Linked DNA regions of Homo sapiens: all the other regions are linked to region 1. The links are contacts of gene promoters, found by promoter capture Hi-C in human tissues and cell types (Jung and others, 2019). All regions are on one chromosome and are shown on one strand. The core of a region is centred on a gene start or on the middle of the fragment in contact, and the rest is flanking DNA. Distances in the headings are between cores, read along the strand shown.

What was found. Contacts are between HindIII fragments. The study calls those that stand out against the background at their distance.
Region 2: a fragment that was not itself captured here is called in contact with the fragment with the promoter of CSDC2 in region 1 in 3 of the 25 tissues and cell types used here (IMR-90 fibroblasts, bladder and lymphoblastoid cells).
Region 3: a fragment that was not itself captured here is called in contact with the fragment with the promoter of CSDC2 in region 1 in 3 of the 25 tissues and cell types used here (lymphoblastoid cells, pancreas and psoas muscle).

The regions. Positions count from the first base shown.
Region 1 is chr22:41,559,575-41,562,637 of GRCh38, reverse strand. CSDC2 (cold shock domain containing C2) reads right to left here and starts at 1,628. Exons shown (of 4, transcript NM_014460.4): 1 at 1,455-1,628. It overlaps LOC105373044 (a long non-coding RNA gene), which reads left to right and starts at 1,755. Exons shown (of 2, transcript NR_134631.1): 1 at 1,755-1,918. The HindIII fragment of the contact is 6,219 bases long and covers 461-3,063 here.
Region 2 is chr22:41,613,990-41,617,119 of GRCh38, reverse strand. The region is part of intron 1 of DESI1 (desumoylating isopeptidase 1); the gene reads left to right. Among named protein-coding and RNA genes, the nearest start is that of DESI1, 5.5 kb to the left of the region's middle. The HindIII fragment of the contact is 3,973 bases long and covers 1-3,130 here.
Region 3 is chr22:41,503,713-41,506,909 of GRCh38, reverse strand. All of the region lies in intron 2 of ACO2 (aconitase 2), which reads right to left. Among named protein-coding and RNA genes, the nearest start is that of ACO2, 36 kb to the right of the region's middle. The HindIII fragment of the contact is 3,499 bases long and covers 95-3,197 here.

The DNA.
Region 1 (3,063 bases), core at 379-2,878:
CTACCCCCTAGGGGGCTCTACTCCAGACTGGCTGGCAGGTGTCCCCTCCCCACCAGCCATCTGAGAGTGTCCCCAAGTCCCCCTCAGGGAATCCCCCTGCGCATCCGTGAACATTGCCTAGCCATGTCTCTCCAAGCCTGGGAGAGCCATCTGTGGCCAAAACTGTCCTCTGGCCTTTCCCAGGACACGGGCAGGCAGTTCCTGTCTATACCTGTCTTTTTTTTTTTTTTTGAAGGGGGTGAGGATGGGTCAAGATGGGCAGACACAGAAAACAGACATTTTTGGAGAAGACTTCAAGGAAATGGGGGGCGGCAGGGCAAAGCTGGGAGGAGGAAACATTCAGAATTTGGAGGGTCCAGAGGACTCTGGGATGGAGTCAGGTTTGGGAAACCAGTTCCCCATCCCCCAGAAAGCTGGAGACCCCCTTTCCCAGGGAGAGGCCCCTGCCGGATCACAGCCAGGCAGCATGATGCCAGGCTCTCAGAGAGGTTGCCCACCCCCCACTGGGCATACTTCCTCCTCTCCTACCCCAGCCCCAGTGGATGCAGCAGTTCACACTCTGTATTTATTATTGTTCTCGCTCTGTGTCCCCCTCCCCTCTCCCTGGGAAGAGCCTGCAGGCTGGCAGCTTGGCAGGAACCTGCTGTCTCCTTGTGGGTGCCAGCGTCGCCCCTTATCTCCGCCTGGACTCCTTGTGCCAGGGTCAGGCCATTCATGGGCTTGGCACCAGCCAAGGCCACCCTAAGTCCCTGTATCCCAAGATAGAGGCCTGGCAGGCCCTGACTTATCACCCCTGCCCTCCGGGGGCTGTGCCCTGGCAAGGGTGGAGGTCAGAGCAGACCAGCAGGCAGGCAAGAAGCAAGGGCTCGGGGTGGGGTGGTACCTGGGGGAAGAGAATAACCACACGGAGCCACCTCTCTAAGCCAACTAACACAATTATCCCCATCACACTGGGGAAAAAATAGAGTCAGGATAAGACAGCTGCTCCAGGTCCAACTGTCTGCCTTTCCCAGCCGGTCCCTTCCCAGCCCAACATTCCAGGGGAAGGACCAGCAAGGGTCCCTGCTGCACTCTGCTTTCAGCAACTGGAAGCGGCACTGGGGTTTCTCTGGTCAAGGCGGTCCTCTCTCCCGCTGCTTCCCAGACAGGAGGCTGCGGCTTGGCAGGTATCTGCTGCTCTCTGCCTCCTGAGCCAGACGCAGGTCCCAGACACAGACACAGACACAGACACAGACATGCTCCCACGGGAGCCACACGGCCTCACCTCATTTGGGGGTCACGGGGAGAGAATGAGGGAGGGAGAGACAGGTGGTATCCTCTATACCCCCAACACCCTATCTGTAAGCTGAACTGGGCTGATCCAGCCCCCACCTTCACGTTGTACCTCTCTCCTTCGGCCTGGCCAAAGCCACAGTTTCTGGCACAGTGTCCTCAGGCCCCATCTAGCCCCTCACCTCTCCTGGGCAGCTGGGGTCCAGGCACTGCCTCCTGCGGCGTCCGCGCTCTGTCTCTCTCTGGCTCGTGGAGCTGGCAGGCAGGGGATGGGTCTGGAAGATGTGTGTGTGTGTGTGTGTGTGTGTGTGTGTGTGTGTCTGTGTGTGCTCGCGCGGGCGGTACCTCAGCCCCTCACTCACTCACACGCCTTCCAGCTGACGTCAGGGAGAGCAGGAGGGAGGGATGAGAATTTGTACTCCCTGCTTAAAGGGACACCAGGCTCTGTGGCTCATGGCCCAGACATCACCTCCTGAGTCAGGCACTGCCAGGTGAGAGGCTCAGCTGCGTCTCTCGGGGGCCTTAAAGCTTCTTTTTTTGGAAAGTGGCTTTTATGGTCGGGCCACGGTATAATTTGCCCTGCCCAGTGAGGGCAGCTGCTGAGGAATGCAGGGGAGGAAGAACCTGAGACAGCGCCACGTTCCTGGTAATTAGAGAGCAAGTGGGGTGGTGAGTTTGAGTGTGAGTGTGTGAGTGCACACTGGGGGGCCCCTCGGGGTGGGTGGGCATGAGTGGGGGTGAGTCTGGGAGAATGGAGGTCAGAGCCAAGAGGAGCCCCCCAGAGGGGTCGAGACAAGCCAGGTTCCCAGGGACACCCAGACACTCGTCTCCCCTCCGGACGCTCAGTGGTCCTGCCCTCTGCTAGTACAGACACTGACACGGCTCATCTCTGTCTACCCCTTGTAATATTTCCATGGAATTGAATTGACGAGGACCCCAAGGAAGTGATCGGCTTGAAGGTGCACAGGTGAACACCCCACAGCCTGGGAGGCTCTGAGTAGAGAAGTAGAGAGGGCTGATTGAATTCAGGCACCCAGCCTGTTCTACACCACACGCCCTGGCTTCGAAGTGCTCCGCACTGTCAAGCTGTGTGACCTTGGGCCAGCCCCTGAGGGCCTTTGGAGGTTGAGTGTGTGATGTTCCTAAACCCAGGGCCAGCTGGAGGAGGCCTCCACAAAGGTGCTTCTCTTCGTTCTTCCCATTCCTTCTCAGCCTCAGCTTGGAAAGAAGGAAGCCTTTCCCTGGTGTCTCCTGGTACTACTGAGGCAGGCTGGCATTTTCAAAAGGAGTCTTTTTAAAATAAAAAGGAGGTGGGAGTTAAAAGGGAAACCGCAGAGAAAAATACAAGTAACTAATACAAATAGCTAAGACGCCACAAGAGCTTGCTCTGTTTCAGGCAGCAAGCTTTGCCCTCATTGAAACCTCACAACAATTTAATAATTTATTTTTATCATCCCTACTTTACCGGTGAGGAATTAGAGGCTCAGGGAGGAGGAAGGACTTGACTTGCCTATATTCTTCCAACTGGCTAGAGAGGTACTGGAACCCAGGAGCACCCAGTGTCACCACACGCCCCTGCCCTTCCAGAACCTCTCAGGACAATCAGGCTCAGACAGTCTGGGTTTCTGGTTCTGCAGGAGAGACTGTTGAGAAATGCTGCCTGTGGTTACCTGGGGATGTTCTGAATTATTATTATTTTTTTTAGAGAGTATTGCTGTGTCGCCCAGGCTGGAGGGCAGTGGCTTGATCTCAGCTCGCTGCAACCTCCGCTTCCCGGGTTCAAGCGATTCT
Region 2 (3,130 bases), core at 106-2,605, 55 kb before region 1:
CCTTCCTGAAGTTTGTAAAGGCATCCTTTGCCAAATGTTTCAAGTTTGGATGAGAAAAAAAGCTGGGTTCAATGTGTATGTGCCACTTACAATCTAGATTTATGATCATGCCTCTTAGTCTCCATTTTCCCAAATTAAATCCATGTGATCTCATCTGCAGTACCCTCTCAGGCTTCAGTTATGTCAGTTCTCCAATGGGAGACCTCATCTAGCTCTGTCGCAGTTCAGGATTAGACTAGATAAAGCCCAAGGTAATTCCCCTTTCCTGAAGCAATGTAAATTCCGTAGTTTTAGCCTGTCCTGTTTTCAGCCTCCTGGAATTGCCTCAAGTGAAGGCATTACTGTTCTATAGCTTTTCATTCACTATGAAAAATGGTCCCAAAATTATCTTCAGCATTCTAATTGAGCAGATAGCCTCATTGCACCTTTTTTCATAGTCACCAATTGCCTAAAATAATTAGCTATTATAAGTGTCCTTCAGTTCCTCCTCTTAATAATTTTGGCTGCTCTTTAAGTTTCTTGACCTCTTTTTGTGCCACAGTACATGCAGAAGTGTGTGTGTGTGTGTGTGTGTGTGTGTGTGTGTGTGTGTGTTTTAATTGTGGTAAGAAGTACTTCATATTTGTTTATTATTTTCTGATCAGAAGTTTCGTGTACATGCATCACGTTTATTTTTCTTTACAAGCCCATTTCAAAACTGTTTTCAGACTTAAAGATTTGGAGACATAGAATATATAAATTGCTTGGCAGAATGAATTCTAATGAATATTAGAGATTTTACACTATACTCAATTCTTTACTTCATTTTGTAGTACAAATAGTAATGAAATAAAAGATATGACGTGAACTCTGTCCTCCAGGAATTTTTCTTTTTTTGAGGCAGAGTTTCACTCTTGTTGCCCAGGCTGGAGTGTAATGACACGATCTCGGCTCACTGCAACCTCCGCCTCCTGGGTTCAGGCAGTTCTCCTGCCTCAGCCTCCCAAGGAGCTGGGATTACAGACATGTGCCACCATGTCCAGCTAATTTTTCTATTTTTAATAGAGACTGGGTTCCACCATGTTGGTCAGGCTGGTCTCAAACTCCTGATCTCAGGCGATCCACCCACCTTAGCTTCCCAAAATGCTGAACAAACCCCCCTCCCAAAGTAAGGCATGAGTCACCATGCCCAGCCCAGGAGTTTTTCTTAAAATATTATTTTCCTTTAAATAATGAATGTACACATATAACATTTGATAACAATATAAAACAGATTATGATTAGGTGCCAAAGTGAGTGAGTGGTGCATGAACTATGTTAGGCTTTGAAATAAGAGAGGCCATGGTGAGCTGAGCATGTCAGAGAGGCTTTGGCAAGAGCCTGGAGCTCCTGGAGGGCAAGGACTCTGTCCCCTTCCTATATGTCCCCAGTGGCCTGTTGGAGCAGGTGTTCAGTAAGTATTGATTATAGAAATGATTGAGACTTGAACTTAAGCTTGAAGATTAAGTAAAATTTATTCAAATCTGAGAGAGGTTTTTTCTGTTTTAATGCCATCTATTGTGCTTTGTTTTTGATTTTTGTTCACTGTGTGAACTGTTTTATACTCATCTAATGAATTAATTTAATAATCATTCAATTTCTTTAAGGCAAAATGGAAAGGAATATGGCTTACAAGGCCCTGCGTGATTCTGCTTTTTTAAATTTTCTTTTTTTTTTTGAGACAGAGTCTTGTTGTGTGCCCAGGCTGGAGTGCAGTGGCGCGTGCCTCCCAGGTTCATGCCATTCTCCTGCCTCAGCCTGCTGAGTAGCTGGGATTACAGGCGCCCGCCACCGTGCCTGGCTAATTTTTTTTTTTTTTTTTTTTTTTTAATTTTTAGTAGAGACGGGGTTTCACCGTGTTAGCCGGGATGGTCTCGATCTCCTGACCTCGTGATCCTCCCGCCTCGGCCTCCCGAAGTGCTGGGATTACAGGCTTGAGCCACCGCGCCCGGCCTGTATTTTTTTTTAGAAGAGACGGGGTTTCACCATGTTAGCCAGGATGGACTTGATCTCCTGACCTCGTGATCCGCCCGCCTCAGCCTCCAAAAGTGCTGGGATTACAGGCGTGAGCCACTGCATGTGGCCTGACCAGTGGTTTTCAAATGCTCTTTAGCTGTGAAACTCTTCCTTGAAATGAAATCTTCTGCAGATATGCATGTGGAAAACAGGTGAAAAGGAACTTTTTTGTTAAAAAAAAAAAAAAGAAGAAGAAAACAAGGTGGGGTGAGGTGGCTTATGCCTGTAATCCCAGCACTCTGGGAGGCCAAGGCGGGTGGATCACCTGAGGTCAGGAGTTTAAGACCAGCCTGGCCAAGATAGTGAAACCCCATCTCTACTAAAAATACAAAAATTAACTGGGCACGGTGGCGCATGCCTGTAATCCCAGCTACTCGGGAAGCTGAGGCAGGAGAATCGCTTGAACTCGGAGGGCAGAGGTTGCAGTGAGCCGAGATCATGCCACTGCACTTCAGCCTGGGTGATAGAGTGAGACTCCATCTCAAAAAAAAAAAAGGATGTAGGCCGGGCACAGTAGCTCACACCTATAATCCCAGCTACTTGGGAGGCTGAGGCAGAAGAATCACTTGAACCCCGGAGACGGAGGTTGCAGTGAGCCGAGATCACGCCACTGCACTCCAGCCTGGGAAACAAAGTGAGACTCTGTCTCAAAAGGAAAAAAGAAAGGATGTAAATTCACTCAATTCATTTTTAATGTTATTGTTGGCTCCAAGTGTTTGGTGGATGAATGAATAAGTGAAAGAATGAACAGGCTGGGTGCAGTGGTTAACCCCTGTAATCCCTGCACTTTGGGAGACCGAGGCGGGTAGATCACAAGGTCAGGAGTTTGAGACCAGCCTGGCCAGCATGGAGAAACCCCGTCTCTACTAAAAATACAAAAAATTAGCCGGGCATGGTGGCGAGCTCCTGTAATCCCAGCTACTCGGGAGGCTGAGGCAGGAGAATTGCTTGAACCCGGGAGGCGGGGGTTGTAGTGAGCCATGATTGCACCGCTGCACCCCAGCCTGGACAACAGAGCGAGACTCCGTCTTAAAAAAAAAAAGAAAGAATGAATAAATAAGGGGATCTTTTTTCTATAGTCCCTATCTCCACTCTA
Region 3 (3,197 bases), core at 595-3,094, 56 kb after region 1:
CAACAGAGCAAAGGGGCTGTTGTGGCCGCCCTGCCTGCCACAACAGCCCCTTTCAGACCTCACGCTCTGCCCCCCAGAATTCTCAAAGCTTAGGCCAAGCTTGAGACTTCCTTCCTAAGGAGGAGCAGAGTTCAACCCACACCTGACAGGCTCTGTCCTATTGTTTGAGGCCAAGAAAAAAGTTTCAGACTGGGAGTCAGAAGCTCTGAGTTTAACCCTGACCTGGGGGCCTGGTGTGGTGGCTCACGCCTGTAATCCTAGCATTTTGGGAGACCAAAGCAGGAGGATCGCTTGAGGCCAGTTCAAGATCAGCCTGGACAACAGAGTGAGACCTTGTCTCTATAAAAAACAGAATGAGGCCGGGTGCGGTGGCTCATGCCTGTAATCTCAGCACTTTGGGAGGCCGAGACAGGCGGATCATGAGGTCAGGAGATGGAGACCATCCTGGCTAACATGGTGAAACACTGTCTCTACTAAAAATACAAAAAAATTAGCCAGGCGTGGTGGCGGGCGCCTGTAGTCCCAGCTACTCGGGAGGCTGAGGCAGGAGAATGGCGTGAACCCGGGAGGCGGAGCTTGCAGTGAGCTGAGATAGCGCCACTGCACTCCAGCCTGGGCAATAGAGCAAGACTCTATCTCAAAAAAAAAAAAAGAATGAGCCAGACAGGGTGATGCGTGCCTGTAGTCCCAACTACGCAGGAGGCTGAGGCGGGAGGATCACTTAAGCCCAGGAGATCAAGGCTGCAGTGAGCCCTGATCACATCACTGCACTCCAGCTTGAGCAACAGAGTGACATGCTGTCTCTAATAAAAACAAACAAACAAAAAAAAAACAAAAAAGCCCAAACCTGACCTATTACTGAAACCACTATTTAACAAGATAAGCAACTGCTCTCCTCAGCTCAGCCAGCCCATCTCTAAATACCAGGGCTTGCACTGGGATGAGATAACAGCTTCCACTTCTATAGCCTTTCATTTTTAAACAGCTTTAAACAGAGGTATAATTGGCATACAATAAACTGCATATTTAAGGTACACAATTTGCTAAGTTTTGACACTGTATACACCTGTGAAACCAGCACCACAATCAAGATACTGACCATCTCTCCTTCAAGTTTCCCCACCCCTTGGTTAACTCCCTCCCGCCCCTTTGCCACTACTGATTGGCTTTCTGTCACTAGAGACCAGCGTTATCGTAGCATTTACTTTCAGCTCAGCATTATCTTAAGTATTTTCATGTATAAAACTCATTTTATCCTCACAGCACAGATGAGGAAGCTGCAGCACAGAGGGACAGAGTAGCTTTGCTCCAGACCACGAAGCCAGTGAGGGGTACAGCTGGACCACGAAGAGGCAGCAGTGTGGCCCTACGGCTGTGCTCCTGACGCTAATCTACCCGGTCTCTCCACACCTGGAATCTGGAATAGGGCCAGCACATGGTGAATGTTCCATTTTCATTATTATTATTATTATTATTATTATTGTTATTATTTTGAGACAGGGTCTTGCTCTGTCACCCAGGCTGGAGTGTAGTGGCACAATTGTAGCTCACTGCAGCCTCAACCTTTCAGGCTCAAGCGATCCTCCCACCTCAGCCTCTGAGTAACTGGGATTATAGGCACGCACCACCACATTGGCTAATTTTATTTATTTATTTATTTTATTTTTGTAGAAATGGGTTTTCACTGTATTGACCAGGCTGGTCTTGAACTCCTAGGCTCACATGATCTTCCCGAAGAGCTGGGATTACAGGTGTGAGCCACCTCATCCTTTCTCAGTTATCATTACTGTTATCATCAATATGCATAGTGAGATGGCAGAGAAACTTCCTTCTGCAAGCTGGGTTCCAGTCCCTCACCCCCAAGTTTACCCAACCTCTTCAAAGTAAGAGTTCCCAGCTGGGTGTGGTGGCTCACGATTGTCATCCTAGCACTTTAGGAGGCCGAGGCAGACAGATCACTTGAGTCCAGGCGTTTTGAGACTAGCCTGGGCAACTCCACCTGTACAAAAAACATAAAAAGAAGCCAGGCATGGTGGCATGTGCCTATAGTCCCAGATACTGGGAAGGCTGAGGTGGGAGGATGGATTGACCCCAGAAGGTCAAGGCTGCAGTAAGCCATGATCGAACCACTGCACTCCAGCCTGGGTAACAGAGCAAGACCCTACCTCAAAAAAAAAAAAAAAAAAAAAAAAAAAAAAGTCCCTAAGGTGCTGGATCTGCTGGCAACAGCAGACCAACTGGCAACTCTGAGCATCTCTATGAATAAAAACAGCACTAGCCTGAGGTACAGCCTGCGCCGATTGCGGCAGCACCGCCAAGGCTGGTGTACGGGCAATGACTCACAGCCCCTCCTTCTGGGCCCCGAGGGAGACAAAAAATAGCACATGGGCTTAAAAACCCAAGACCTTGGAAGCAAATGATTGAAGCTATATAAAAAAGCTCAGCAATGCTGAAGCTTTAGGATGGGTTCATCATTGAATGTCCCTGAGGATTAACTGAGGATGACAAAATGGGTCTTCATATCCATCTGTCCCTCTGCTCTCCAGATGACACAGATCCAGTTCTCAAGAACAGACTTAGACCCCTTCTGTTGGAGACACAAGGTGGAAGAGAAGTCGCCCAGCAAGTCCCCTGGCCTTCTAAAAAATTCTTAGAATAGAACGCTTTATTTTTATTTTTTGAGCCAGAGTCTCTTCCTCTGTCACCAGAGACACCACTCTGGCTGGAGTGCTGTGGTGTGGTCTCAGCTCACTGCAACATCCACCTCCTGGGTTCAAGCGGCTCTCCTGCCTCAGCCTCCCGAGTGGCCGGGATTACAGGCGCTCGCCACCATGCCTGACTAATTTTTTTGTATTTTTAGTAGACACAGTGTTTCACCATGTTGGCCAGGCTGGTCTCAAACTCCTGGCCTTAAGTGATCCGCCTGCCTCGGCCTCCCAAAGTGCCGGGATTACAGGCGTGGGCTACCATACCCGGCTAGAATATAATTCTTTTTAGCATAACCTCACCTCTGCCCTCTTTCTCCGTGTCAGGGTTTCTCAGCCAGGGCACTATGAACCTATTTGGGCCGCAGAATTCTTTTGTTGTGGGGCTGCCCTGTGCGCTGTAGGATGCTTGGTAGTATTCCTGGTTACCCATTGGGTAACAGTAAGCCCCAACCCCAGCCAAGTTATGACAACCAAAAATATCTCTAGACA